Regions from separate parts of the Homo sapiens genome. Here region 2 is linked to region 1. The links are contacts of gene promoters, found by promoter capture Hi-C in blood cells and fetal thymus (Javierre and others, 2016). All regions are on one chromosome and are shown on one strand. Each heading gives the region's core, a stretch centred on a gene start or on the middle of the fragment in contact. The rest is flanking DNA. Distances are from core to core; before and after follow the strand shown.

Evidence for each region. Contacts are between HindIII fragments. The CHiCAGO score rates a contact against its expected background, and 5 or more counts as called.
Region 2: a contact is called between the fragment with the promoter of SNX19 here and the fragment with the promoter of EI24 in region 1, in 1 of 17 cell types (total CD4 T cells). The highest score is 5.3, in total CD4 T cells.

The regions. Positions count from the first base shown.
Region 1 is chr11:125,566,374-125,573,719 of GRCh38, forward strand. It overlaps EI24 (EI24 autophagy associated transmembrane protein), which reads left to right and starts at 3,104. Exons shown (of 11, transcript NM_004879.5): 1 at 3,104-3,200; 2 at 6,085-6,196. The coding sequence starts at 6,155. STT3A-AS1 (STT3A antisense RNA 1) reads right to left here. Exons shown (of 4, transcript NR_132372.1): 2 at 7,083-7,201; 3 at 3,917-4,069; 4 at 1,735-1,745. RefSeq lists enhancers at 2,768-3,269, 3,772-3,821 and a silencer at 2,772-3,331. The HindIII fragment of the contact is 1,677 bases long and covers 2,112-3,788 here.
Region 2 is chr11:130,912,560-130,919,905 of GRCh38, forward strand. It overlaps SNX19 (sorting nexin 19), which reads right to left and starts at 3,920. Exons shown (of 11, transcript NM_014758.3): 1 at 1,707-3,920. The coding sequence starts at 3,380. RefSeq lists an enhancer at 3,663-3,712 and a silencer at 3,833-4,112. The HindIII fragment of the contact is 12,734 bases long and covers 1-7,346 here.

The sequences.
Region 1 (7,346 bases), core at 1,854-4,353:
GAAAGTGCCCATGACCCTGAAGCCTCAGAGCGGGTGTTACAGTGCTCCTTTAGTTTCATCATCCACAAACAGCAGTGTGTTAGTAGCTCAGTTGGCCCTTTGCCTTGTCACGTGGGGCAGCTGCCTTCCACTGGTGGGGGCAAAGGACCAGTGTGACAGCCTTTCTGGGTACCTGTACTTGGTGGGTCCCAAGCTCTTGTCCAGTGTCCAAGAAGAATGAGGTCACATGCAGGATTGAAGGATGGCGGGCCAGGTGCGGTGGCTCACGCCAGTAATCTCAACACTTTGAGAGCCTGAGGTGGGTGGATCACCTGAGGTCAGGAGTTTGAGATCAGCCTGGCCAACATGGTGAAACCCCATCTCTACTAAAAATACAAAAACTTAGCTGGGCGTGGTGGCAGGTGCCTATAATCCCAGCTACTTAGGAGGCTGAGGCAGGAGAATTGCTTGAACCCAGGAGGCATAGGTTGCAGTGAGCTGAGATTGCACCATTGCACTCCAGCCTGGGTGACAGAGCAAGACTCTGTCTCAAAAAAAAAAACAAAGAAAAAAACAAAGAAGGATGTTGAGGGCAGAGAATTTTTTTTAGTGATGAAAACGAGTCTCAGCAGTGAGGGGAGCTGGAGAAGGGACAGGAAGGGCAGGTCGTCTTCCTCAAAGTCAGGCGGTCTCCCACTCTACTGACTAAGTCAGGGGTCCTTATAGGCACAGGATGGGGAGTATGTGCAGATTGGTTTGTGGCTATGCAAGAAAGGTTAAAGCAAAGGCACCACTCAAAGGTGGGCACAACAGTGTAGAAAACCAATCAGGAAAGGGTAGGTATATGTAAAATAGGTGAAGGGTGGGGATCAATCAGAGGAAAACATGCAAGACAGGAAGACAAGTTCTCAATCTGGTCTGAGGACTTAACTTGTAGCTTGGCTTTCGAGCTTTAAACTGTTTTTGGCTTGGAGGTGGGGTTTCAATGGGGACCCGCCACTAACTGCCTAGGCATTTGGCTGTCTCCTGTCGCTATCACTAGATCTAGTATTGTTATCATTTCACTAAATCATATATCCATACAGTTAAAAAACACCTTCATATATATACCATTTATTTCAGCAGCCTGTGTTAAAGAAACTAAGGTTTGGGCCAGGCGTGCTGGCTCACACCTGTAATCCCAGCACTTTGGGAGGCCAAGGCGGGTGGATCACGAGGTCAGAAGATCGAGACCATCCTGGCTAACATGGTGAAACCCCGTCTCTACTAAAAATACAAAAAATTAGCCGGGCGTGGTGGCGGGCACCTGTAGTCCCAGCTACTTGGGAGGCTGAGACAGGAGAATGGTGTGAACCCGGGAGGTGGAGCTTGCAGTGAGCCAAGATAGAGAGACACTGTCTCAAAAAAAAAAAAAAAAAAAAAAAGAAACTAAGGTTCACAGCTTAACTGGAGGTCATGTCTTCTCAAAGTGCTCTGCCACAAACTTCCTCATTTGTGAAATTTGGAAAATAATATCCTCTACTTGTCCACAAATAGCATCTAATCATACATAAGCATGTGAGAGCTCTTTAAAAATGCAAGGTATTAATTATTATTGGTTTTTATTTTAAATGTGGTTATACATGTTGAGATTTAAAAGATTTCCTCCCGGCCAGGCGCAGTGGCTCACGCCTGTAATCCCAGCACTTTGGGAGGCTGTAGGTGGGCGGACCACGAGGTCAGGAGATCGAGACCATCCTGGCTAACACGGTGAAACCCCGTCTCTACTAAAAATACAAAAAAATTAGCCATGCTTGGTGGCAGGTGCCTGTAGTCCCAGCTACTCAGGAGGCTGAGGCAGGAGAATGGCGTGAACCCAGGGGGCGGAGCTTGCAGTGAGCCGAGATCGCACCACTGCACTCCAGCCTGGGAGACAAAGACAGACTCAGTCTCAAAAAAAAAAAAAAAAAAAGATTTCCTCCCATGAAGTAAGCCAGAATAAACTCATACCTACTAAATTCTTTCTAAAATCTTTTCTAAATTGACACTCTTGAGAAAGAATAGAGCTTGGAGGAAGAGCTATTATTATAATTAATAGCACAATAATCAGTTTGTCATTAAACCACTTAGGTCTCTTTGTAACAAGATTTCTAAGCTTTAGTAGATGGATTCCTTATTCTATTCTATTTTATATTGTTTTGTTTTGTTTTATTTTATTTTATTTTTCGAGACAGTCTAGCTGTGTCACCCAGGCTGAAGTGCAGTAGTGCGATCTCGGCTCACCGCAACCTCTGCCTCCTGAATTGAAGTGATTCTCATTCCTTAGCCGACCAAGTAGCTGGGACCACAGGTGTGTGCCACCATGCCCAGCTAATTTTTTGTATTTTTAGTAGAGACGGGATTTCACCATCTTGGCCAGGGTGGCCTCAAGTGATCTGCCCGCCTCAGCTTCCCAAAGTGCTGAGGTTACACGCATGAGCCACCGTGCCCAGCCACTTATTTTATTTCATTTTTTAAATTTATTATTATTATTATTATTTTGAGACTGAGTCTTGCTCAGTCGCCCAGGCAGGAGTGCAGTGGTGTGATCTCGGCTCACTGCAACCTTCATCCCCTGAGTTCAAGTAATTCTCCTGCCTCAGCCTCCTGAGTAGCTGGGACCACAGGCAGGTACCACCACACCTGGCTAATTTTTGTTATTTTAGTAGAGATGGGGTTTCGCTATGTTGGCCAGGCTGGTCTTGAACTCCTGACCTCGTGATCTGCCTGCCTTGGCCTCCCAAAATGCTGGGATTAAAGGCATCCTGTTACTAATTTCACAGGATTTTAGAAACGCAAGCAGCGTTGTGGAGTCAATGGGGGAGGGCAAAGAACAGGAGGAGAGATCTGTGAGAACGGGATCGGCGAGGAGGCGACGGGGAGGAGGCGACGCGGAGGGGTGAGGGGTCCTCTCCGCCGCCAGGCGGAGTTGGGAGCCGGACGATCCCGCACGCAGCGCGAGGCGGGACCCCGGACTGACTACATTTCCCAGTCTCCGTCGCTCCGCGCGGCCCACCCCTTCGGCTCTGGGCCCCGCCTCGTGGTGCCGGCTGGTTCTTCGCGCTCGCCCGACTTCCCAGCGGCCCCGTGCGGCCCGGGCATGCCCAGTGCGGGCGCAGCGGCCCCGGCCCTGGAAGCGCCCCGGCGGAGCTGGCCTGCGGTGGGCTAGGGGCAGGGCCGGAGCCGCGGCGGCGGAGCTGTGGGTAGGTGCGGGCTCAGCCGAGCTAGGCCTCGGGGCCGCCGCGCCGCCCATTCTGAGTGGCAGGGACCGGGAGGGCAGGCAGGGCCCGAGCGTGGGTTGGTGGGGCTACCGGCGAGGACCCCTTATGGGAAGGGGCCGGAGGGAGCGGGACGGGGCCGGGCACATCCCCGGGCGAGGCTGCCCCAGGTGCGGCGCAGCTATCTTTAGCTCCCTGTGTGACCCGGAGCGTGCGTGATCCGCACCTCGCGTGATCCGTACCTCGTGCACAGTTGTGCCTAGGGAGACCAGTTTTCTGCCGAATTGCCTAGGAGCTGTGGGGAGATGGGCCTGAATGGACCCGTGGACTCAGAGGCAGCCCGTGGAGCCCCGTGGGAAGTGAGGATGTTTACCTTCCCTGTACCTGGAGTGGGCTACGACAGCTTCCTGTTTGCCGAGACTTGGGTTTAGTGACTTAGAAATAAAAGTGTGTCTCAGCAGATGCTTATTAGCTTCTAATGACTGTTGGGAATTTAATGGCATTTGTATTTCCAGGTTTGAGAGGTTATTTGTCCATGGGATGCTCGTGTTAAAACAAAAATCTTCATTGCAAAGCTTAAGTAAAAACAAGTCTCGACCGAGGTAACGTTAGAACACCGGGTTCTGAGGTTCACTGTAGCTGCCATTCATTTGCTGTCAGTCTGGGCAAGTCATTTAACTTCTGAGACTGGGTTCTCTCACCTGTTAAATGAGCCAGATGCATCTTCATCTGTCTAGCTCAGCTGTAGGATTCCCCCTGTGTCATTCAGTCTGTGTGTGTGTTCTCAAATTGTGGCAGGTTATTTTTCCCCATGCCTCAGCTATTTGTCAGACTGGGTAATTCACCAAATATTCCTGTAGGAAGGATGTTAGGATCTAAGTATAAAAGTGAAGTGATTTATCCTTCATAGGTCACTCTTAGGAGGTGTCCTGCCACTTGGTACATGCAGAAACCAGGTGTTAGCTGGCCAGGGATCAAATGACACAGCTGTTGTGGACTGAGACAGAATGTTTCAGGTTCCCTGTCAGTTCCCTGTGAGAAATCCAGGCCAAGTAATGGGCTTCCTTAAACCTCCAAGCTGGCTCACTTTGGTGGGGTTGTGTTTATATAGAATTTTAAGTTTTTTTCATGCTGTTGTGCCCTATTAGATGCAAGAAACCTATGAAGAAGTTTAGTACCCTTAATTTATAGATGAGCCAGTGGCAGGTTACGGGAGTGGATCTGTGAGTCTTTACAAACTAGTGTCGTGCATATCACTGAGCCTTTGCTAGTTATCTAGCTCAGCTGCCCTCACCTCAACCCTGAGAACATGTCTGTATGGCTGTACCTACGCGACTGGAACTCTGAGGTGTTTGTTTTCAGGAGGAAACAGTGGGAGTATTAACAGAAGTTTCTTACCCTAGAGACTTCTATCCGAAGTGAGCCTATCTGTGTAGGATTTGACCTAAGGAGCAGAGGGTATATACAATGTTGGGCAAATTGCCTTCCTACTGCCATATCCCCTGCTCTTCCAGTTCTGAATGGCATTAGTCCAGTTGGGTCAATGAGGAGCAGTTTGGTGAAGTGGTTAAAGGTCGGGGAAAGTGTGCTTATATTTTGAAATTTAAGGTTTGTACAAGCTGCTTGTGAAATTCTGTCTTTGTATTATGGTCATACCTCTTAAACTGAGAATACTGCAACTTGATTGAGTGAGTGTTGAGAACTTTAGAATATCAGGTTCTTAAAAAATGCCTGAAAGTGGGTTTTCTATTCATCTTAGAAGTCACCACAGATTAAATGAGAGAATAGTATATTAATTACAAGTATTTCTCACATGAACTCTCAAGTTCTTAATTTTTGAAACTAGATATCCCATTCACCTGAGAAATAAAATGGGAAAGCCTTACTGTTTTAAAGACTGTTTATACATATGAACTTTTTTGAGGCCTAGTTTAAAATCCACTATTTATTGCATGTTTATTAAAATTGTATCTGTATATATTTAAAGTTAGAAAACAGAAAAGACCAGCCGGGCGTGGTGGCTCATGCCTGTAATCCTAGCACTTTGGGAGGCTGAGATGGATGGATCACCTGAGATCAGGAGTTTGAGATCAGCCTGGCCAACATGGCGAAACCCCATCTCTACTAAAAATACACAAAATTAGCTGGGCGTGGTGGCGGGTTCCTGTAATCTCAGCTACTCGGGAGGCTGAGGCAAGAGAATCACTTGAACCTGGGAGGTGGAGGTTGCAGTGAGCCGAGCCCAGTGTTGCACTCCAGCCTGGGCAACAAGAGCGAGACTCTGTCTCAAAAAATAAAATAAAATAAAAAAGACCTATTTGGAGGTTTTGGTACGCAATTTCATGTCATACCTTAAACTTTACTGTGCCCGAGGGCTCTGTATGACTGAAGCATGTATTTAGTAATTTTTGTAAGAACTTTTATCTTGCTCTTGTATTTTCATTCAAGTATTTGAAGGTATCCAGCAAACATAAAAATTGCTTAAGAAGATATTGAAATGTAATTATCTTCCATCTCCAAACCCTCAAAAGTGCTTAGAATGTGTAGGAGGGATAGTTAGGGGCATTGAGGCTCAGAGGAGGTTACTGGTCAAGAGCACATTGTAAAAATGTAAAATGTAAAAATGAGAGGGTGTAAAATGTAAAACCCCTTGTAAAAATGAAAGGGTGGTGAGTGTTTTAGAAAAAAAATAGGGATTTTAGGTTTCAGCTGTACAGGAATAGCTTCACTTGATTCACTCTATTAGTGCTAGAATCTACTGCTATCTTACTAGAGCTACAAGTATGTGAGGTCATCATGTGGAAATGTGCATGAAGTAACTTATCTTTAAAATAAATATTTGCCTCCATTATGTTCCATCTGTTTCCAGATCCTTCATGATGAGAGATTTGGGGACACTTCTCTCTCCTGTGTGTAGTTGATAGTTTGGTGGTGAAGAGATGGCTGACAGTGTCAAAACCTTTCTCCAGGACCTTGCCAGAGTGAGTACATCTTGTTTATAGGAATTCATCTCTCGGCCTTTTTTTTTTTTGCTGAAGGAACCATCTAGGAAATCCTTTAGGGTTTTTGGAACTTTTATCATATTTCTTGGGTTCTTTACATAAAGGTTGTTATTCTAGACCACACTACTCAAGAAATAGGTATTGTTCTACATCTTGCAGACAGTCTTGCAGGTGCTTGGAAGACCTCTTCGGTGGATGTCTCCAGTATTGGGACCCTAATCATCTTGGCTTCAGAGCTTTTTTTTTTTTTTTTTTTAACTTTTTATTTTGGAATGTGTTTAGATTTACAGAAAAGTTATAAGGTAGTACAGAGAGTTCCTGTATGTCCTTCATCAGCTTCCCTTAATGTTAACATATAACCGTGGTATATTTGTCAACTAAGAAATGAACATTGGTTCAGTACTATCACCTAAACTAATTAATTCAGATTTAAATTAGAGAACCTATCTTTTTTTTTTCCCAATTTTTCATTTATTTAAAAATTTTTCTGTTAAAAGTAGAGACGAAGTTTTGGCATGTTGCCCAGGCTGGTCTCAAACTCCTGGGCTCAAGTGATCCACCCGCCTTGTCCTCCCAAAGTGCCGGGATTATAGGAGTGAGCCACTGCACCTGCCAGAACCTTTTTTCTCCCCATTCTACAAGCTGTGCACGTGAGGAGGATACTCTAGGAAAATGCCCTATAAAGATCTGGTTAGGACCCAGTCATCCAAATTACCAATAGCACAAAAGTCTGCTACTTTTAATGTATGTCTGAAGCCTAATAATGTCTCACTTGTAACCCCCTCTTATATTTCCACTAGCATGAAAGAGGCCAATTCTTGGAGTGGGGAGGTTCTTTCTTTAGTGGAAGAGTTTAAAAGGTTACCTTTATGGCCAGGGGAGGTGGCTCACAGCTGTAATCTCAGCACTTTGGGAGACCAAGGAGGCAGGATTGCTTGAGTCTGGGAGTATGAAGCAGTAGTGAACTATGATGGTACCAGTGCACTATAGCAGGGCAAGAAAGTAAAAAGGTTATTACTTTTGAGTAAAAGAGGGAGGATTGAAAGAGTATCTTAGAAGGTCTAAAAAGACTTTATGCATATGATCTCCTTTTTTTTTTTTTTTTTTTTTTGACAGAGTCTCACTGTGT
Region 2 (7,346 bases), core at 2,670-5,169, 5.3 Mb after region 1:
TCATTAGGAATGGGCTATTATTTTTCGGTTGAGGTATACTGTGGGCAAGAGGTGGAAAAAACTACCTCCTCGTTGGTGGGAGTTGTGGCTGGTGCTTTACAATTTTCTGGAGACAGGGTATTCATTATGAGCTGATGTGAGCAAAGCAGTCCCTCAGAACAGCACTGAGAAGGAAAGACCAAGTAAGAGCAACAGGTGGCATTCAGGGTGGGGCTCTCAAGCCTGGAGCATTTGGAACTATGAGGCTTTCTGTGGAATATGCTGCTCCTCGAGGGCCAATTTTCAACACCGTTATGGTTACTTCCATCACATAAACCGAAAACTATTTACTATCAGAAAGTATAATAATATTGATATACAATTTAAAATCAGTTATATGTCCATATAAAAATCTAAACCCAATTTCAAACTACTCATAATTGGCTATATTATTTCGTTCTCATTTTTTACTTTACTCTTTTCTAATGCTTAATTGAAGCAGTAGCAGATGTCAAAATCTAGCCAACAACAAAAAAGAACAAATAATGGGAGAAAGACTGGGAACTTAAACATTCTATCCATCAACTTAATTTTTCTGCTAATGAGGAGGGAAAAAACCTGCTGTTTTATGTCAGTATTGGAATAGTCATTAAAAAAAGATGAAATAACCAGAAGCCAACACTTAAATGTGAGAAAGGTGCATGGCATAGGGGCATCCAGAATTAGAACAAAAAGGCAGGAAAATGTTAACAAAGTTATACCAGTCCTTTGAGGCTAGTCTCAGTTATTTTATGACCAGACATCTGTACTTCTACAATTTGCCTATAATGAGTGTGTGTCTGTGTGTTCACCCATATGCATTTCTAATTACTTCCATTCCGTCTTACTTGAAAATGTCATAATGTTACTTTCTAAAATGCTATGTCATGATGCAGCTGTGTTGAGCAGATCAAGGAAGGTCTTTTCCCTCTTAGTTGGATTGGGAGTTCGGAGGAGTGTAGCAAGCAGGCTGTCCCTGGTGGTAGCTTGTGGACTCAAATGAGAGAAATTCAAGTGTGGAAGGCAAGTAAAATCCAATGGGTAGGATCTTGTCCAAGAATTTTCTTTCTCAACTTCTTCCCTGCTGATTTCTTTTTCAAAATACTGGTACATTTTGTACTTTGTTTTAGGAAGGTAGGTTATTTACCTATGTCTATCTCAGAAGATAGCAAGTTTTTGACTCTTGGAGGTGTGTAAGCAGACTTGGGAACAACTTGACAAGAGATAACATGAAGAGGGTTGGTTGGATTAGAGAGGCAATTCCCCAAGATGGCCTTAGGACAGGCTGACTCTATGTTATCTGGAGAGTTCTATTTGAAAATAAATAAAATACAGAATCCAGGGACCCCCTCCTTAGAAATTCTCATACAGAATCCAACAGAGTCTGTCAGAATCTGTATATCTGAAAGGCAGCTCAAGTGATTTTGAGGTGCAGCCAAGTTTGGGAACCACTGAAAATATAACCCTCAGCATTCTAGCAGCCCTGAGGTTCCAGGATTGCTTGTGTGAGTACAGGATAAACGCTACTCTGCCTTACATATTAGCTTCAGACCATTCACAGAGATAGATGCCTATTGAAAGAACCACTTCAAACTAACAGCATCTCTCCCCCAAGAACATTTGCTTCATGACTGCTTTCCAAACCCACTCCTAGCCCGGGTGAGCACCCACAGCTTTAATCCTGTTACCTTCACAGTATAGAGTGTGTATGGGTGGAATCCAGTGCCACTGTGCTCTCGGGCTGTAATGGTGCCAGTGATACGAAGGTTCTGGATGATAACTGGACCATCGGGACTGCTTAGGGGCTCAAAGCTGAAGGTGGCTGAGCTGAGAGGACCAGGTGGAGAGGAGGAAAGCAGAACTGGTGGCAGAGTAGGATCAAGGGAGCTCACATCATTGGTGAGATCCTTCTCTAAGCATGACGGCCGTGAGGGGCAGGTCTTTTCTGGCCCCTCCAGCAAAGCTGTAACAGAGGCGGTAACATCTCCTTGTTCTATCTCCTTGTCTGCTGTGTCAATATGGATCTCTGGGCAGGAATTCAGTGTGGAGACCGGCAGGCCTGTCTCTGTTTCTGTCCCTGGACCCTCCTCAGCCTCTGCTCCTTCAGATGCCTCACCATCTTTGGGTTCCAGAGCCTGGGAACTCTCTAGGGCACACAGGGCATCCTGAATCCTGTCAGAGAGAAAGCTGCCTGGAGTCATGAGCATGATGGTTTCTTTGCCCAGTTCAGACAGCGGAGACTCCAGCTCTGAGTCTTCACATAAGAACAGGGGACCTCGAACATTTGGCTGTAGGAAATGAGATGAGTTGTTTCCTACTTTTCTTTCTTCACACATCCCACCCAAATCTCCCTCTACAGCTTCGTGGCCTTCTTCAACCTCTGGAGAGGGGCCTGCAGAACCCTCTGGCTCACTGTAACTTAGGAATACTGGGGCTGCTACTGGAGAAGCTCTCCCTTCTGGAAGCTGCTCTACCTCAGCAATCAGTGGCAGAGATGTCGGCACTGAGGGCTGTTCGGGGGCACTGGCTGGGCAGGGTGCTGGATCTCTGGCCTTGGAAAAGATACCCACGAGTACAAGGTGGATCCAGTCAGGATCTGACAGCCTGCTGATCAGTGGTAAGATTACATTGCATGTGATGAGTTCGACCACTACATGGCGTCCGGTACGAGTCTCCAAGTGGGGCTTGGGCACCAGCCCTTGAAGCAACAAATTCACAACGCCACGCGTATAGGTGACTTCAGCACTGGGGCTGTGCACAGCAGGATGTGGGGCAGTCGCCCGGCAGTAAGCCTCCCAGAGGTGGGAAGGCTCAACTGGACCATTCTTCCCTGCAGTGGCCTCCTTTGCCTGAATGTAGCTCTGCAGGTGACAACCGCAGAGAGTCAGAACACTCTGGGCAACAGCATGACTGTCCATCACGCTCATCCTTCTCCGAAGCTCCTGGACCAACCCTTTCATGGCTGCCTCCATTTCTTCCTCAAAGGCTGGCTCCTGGCTCACGGAACGGTACCAAGATAACACAAAATCTCGAATAATCATCTGGATGGTGCGGTTGATCTCCCGTTCCAGCTGCCTTTCTGCCTCAGGGCATGGAGGACAGGTGGCCAACGGGATGAAGCGTTCCAGATGCAGTCGACCTGAAGCCACTCCAGCGAGGCTGGAGCCCAGCCATCCTCCCAGCACCACTAGCAATGCCGACAGAAGGCACAGCAGCCACACGTTGACCAGAAGGTGTATGACCAGGAGCCAGCCAAGCAAGACCCCCACAGCCATCAGCTTCCGGCTACTCAACAGGTTATTGAGGTGACAGCTCGATCCAGCTGGAGTTTCCTGGAACGGTGGCACTGTTTCTGTCTTCATGGCTGAACGGACAAGGTGGCTTCCCCAGATGACAGCCCTCAAGATTTTACTTCAGAGTTAGGGAAGGGGGGCATGAACTGTGTCTCAGATATGGGGCGATCTGGGTGCTGTTCAGGGAACCGGGGCTCCAGGCCCTCAAAGTCCTACAGGCACTGCAAAGCGACAGCTGCAGCTCCGCGTCTCCCCATGGCTACCACTAACAGAGCCCTCCAACTCGCCCCTTCCAGCTGAGGTGTGGCTTTGGAGGAAAACTCTGTGGCCTTCACACTGCCCCAGGCGGAAGGCCTCTTCGGGGCCTCGGGGCGGGCGCTGCAAGGCCCTGGGGCCCACGGACACTTACACACGCAGCGGGCAGCGGCCGGCGAAGACTGGGTCACACGCCGCCGGGAACCGCGCGCCCACACTCAGCCCCGACCTGAAGTGGACTCATCGCGGTCCTCTCCGGGAGCCTCGGCCCTCTGCCGCCGTAAACCTGGGCGACTGCGCTCCGCAGCCGGGCCTGTGTGAAGGCTGACCGCCGGCCGGCCGCCGGCGACAGCTTCCGGGTCGACGTCGACGGGAGCGAGGCATGCTGGGAGAGCGTCCGCGCGCGCCCCGAGGAGCGGCGCTGCCCGGCGCCCTCTGCTGGCGAGGAGCCGCCCTGACGGCCCTGCGCGAGGTAGTCTCTGAGCCTGAGCGTGAGCCTGAGCGCGCACGGGGCGCGTGCTCGCCAAGAGCTGGCGCAGATTTCCGAAGTGCCACGAAACAGCCGCCGCAGCAATCACCGCTAAGACCCAGACTTCCAGGCGCTTTAAAACGCGTCCTAGTTCTGGTTATTAAATGAAGCCTGTCCTTTACTGCTTAGGCACGCTGTCAATAATCCGGTTTATTTTAATTTCATGGAGGCGAAGTTTCATTGGCCTGATGTGTCTTAACATTTATCCGGTTTCCCCTAGAGCCGGTACCCCGCGTCCCCAGCACAAAGACCCTCATTTGTTGTCAGGAATTGCAGAATATAAGGCATGAAACGATACAGAGATAGATTTATGTTGTACATTTCATATACTGTATCACAAAATCAAATTTGTGATTGAGGGTTATTTGCTGGTGGCATTACACAAACAATCAAATATTTTGAGCATCTGCTGTCTTCAATGTGAGAGGCAGCGTGGACGAATAGAAGCAGACCTTGTCCTCCAGGACCTCCTGCTAACTGGGGATGCCAGCGCTTTGAACGCGATTGGCTATCTAGTAATGCCAGTCAGCGTGCGATATAGTAAAATACAAAATCTTATAGGAATTCAGGGGAAGGAGAGATCACTGTGGGTTGCAATGGTTAAGGAGAAGCTCACAGAAAAGGTGCCTTTCTGCTGAGTCTTCAAGGATGAGGGTTTCTATTTCCCTCTATCTCTTCTCGCCTTATCCTCCCCAAAAACATAGAAAAGGAAAGCAGAGATAGAGGTGTCCTTTCAGATAATCCTGTAATATATTTGCTTTGGAATATGCTCTATGTTGGATTGTTTTTGGTTTTAGCAAATTAGACTTCACTTGTCTACACAGGAACCTATAGGAAGACAAAATACCGGAAGCACTGACCAGGTGTCAAAAGTGTTAGTGTCAGTTTTGCGTGAAGCCAGCTTCCATGTCCACCTTGGGCCCTAGGAGCTGTGCCCGCAGGGTGGGTCTCCTTTCCATTTAGGCATAGGATTCGCATCGTTTGCACAGAGCTGCTCATGGTTGCCCTTCGTCCACCTTCTCTGTGCTGTGAGCAGTCTTTCATCATCATGGACTACTCCCTAGATGTTTAAAGGAATCTTCAAACAAATCCCAACCCAAAACTCTGCCAACAAGAAGTGCGTTGCAGCTTCCTGTCTCGTCCATTGCTGCTGTTGGGGCAGAGACTTCCTTTGAATACGAAAGAAGCCATCATTTAGATGTGACCCGTAGTTTACGATTCATCACTTCTAAAGCAAATGGTTTGATTTAGGATCAGTGTCCACTAAGCAGACTGGGCACTCCCGTGAGATGGCAGAATGTGAATCCACGGTTTCACGGTCCATACCTTTTCACTGCTGCCTGCCTTCCCGCAGAAAAGGAACCCGAGAAGTGGGCTCTGCCCCTCTACCTTCCCAGACCATTCTAATGTCCTCAGGAGCACTTAGAAAATGGCAACAATGCTCTGGAGAAAAGTCCCTGCCACCTAGTTGGGAGCTAAAACAGAAATGTGAATGATGAAGGGACTACCGACGGTGCTGAAGACTTCCTGTGGCAGTTCAAAGAGAAAGTTTACTTGGCAGCATAATCTGGAGTGTTCAGGGCAGTAAGGAAGTGACCTTGCAAGTGGGCGCTATGCCACCTGACCAGATGGTCTGGAGCATCAAGGTAGCCAAGAGTGCCTTCCTGATTCTGAAGCGGGTTTGATGGACATGCCCGTGCACTTGTCATTTGGACGGGTGTGAGCTCCTGCCTGGGGGTCTGGGCAGACCCTGGTCTCCAAACAGATTAATCACTGGGAGGAGGTGAGAGTCAGGACTGATGTGCCCTGGTGTGTGTATGTGGGGTGGGGAGACTTGGCCACACCACTCACCATCTGGAGACGTCCTTCCTTCTTTCCTTTTCCCTATTTCTCAAAACATTAAAGGCATAGTGCTAGAGTGTTGGAGAAAACAAGACAAATAAGATACAATAATTCTCCTCAAGGGACTCTCAGTCTAGTTAAAGGAGAGACACATAAATATATAAACGTAATGAAACATGATCACGTGTGTAATGTGATGTGTTCTGATGTGTTGTAATAGAAGTGCATACAATAAAATCGAAACACAAAGCGGGTGGTCAGCTGTGGAGGGGGGTGGCTCATAGACAGTTTTCCCTTAAGTTGGGAAATGAAAAAGAATTGAGTGTATTTTAGGAAATGTTGGGTAGCGAGAGCAAGGGGCAAACAGAAGGAAGGTCTTTCAGGCAGAGGCCTGCTCATAAGAAACAGGCAGAGACCATGAGAGCAGGGGGGCCCGTGACATAGGCCCTGCCAGAGCCAGCCCGCACCCCACTTGAATTTTCTCTCAAAATAGAAGACCAGGAGGCTTCCTAAAGAGAAGCTCAGTGATGGGGCAAGTGAGTGAGAAGAGGCGATGGTATGGAATTATTGCTGTGGGATATAGAAAGGGAGCTATCGAAGGTCAGGTAAAAAGATGAAGTGGGGGCTGGGCGCAGTGGCTCATGCCTGTAATCCTAGCACTTTGGGAAGCTGAGGCAGGCAGATCACGAGATCAGGAGTTCAAGACCAGTATGGCTAACATAGTGAAACCCCGTCTTTACTAAAAATACAAAAAAATTAGCCAGGTGTGATGGTGTGCTCCTGTAATCCCAGCTACTCGGAGGGCTGAGGCAGGAGAATCGCGTGAATCCAGGAGGTGGAGATTGCAGTGATCCGAGATTGTGCCATTGCACTCCAGTAGCCCGGGCAACAGTGCGAGACTCCGTCTAAAAAAAAAAAAAAAGAGAGAAGGTGGGGCTGAGGGACCTTTTTGTAGTGGCACCAATACATATGGTTGAGTTATTTTCTCTGGAGGTGTTTAGTATTGTATTAGTCCATTTTCATGCTGCTGATAAAGACACACCGGAGCCTGGGCAATTTACAAAAGAAAGAGGCTTAATTGGACTTGCAGTTCCACATGGCTGGAGAAGACTCACAATTATGGCAGAAGGCAAGGAGGAGCAAGTCACATCTTCCGTGAATGGCAGCAGGCAAAAAGAGAAATGAACTTGTGTGGGAGAACTCTTCTTTATAAAACCATCAGTCTCATGAGACTTCTTCACTATCATGAGAACAATGGGAAAGACTTGCCCCCATGATTGAATTATCCCCTACCGGGTTCCTCCCATGACACATTGGAATTGTGGGAGTTACAATTCACGATGAGATTTGGGTGGAGACACAGAACCAAACCATATCATTCCACCCCTGGCCCCTCCCAAATTTCATAT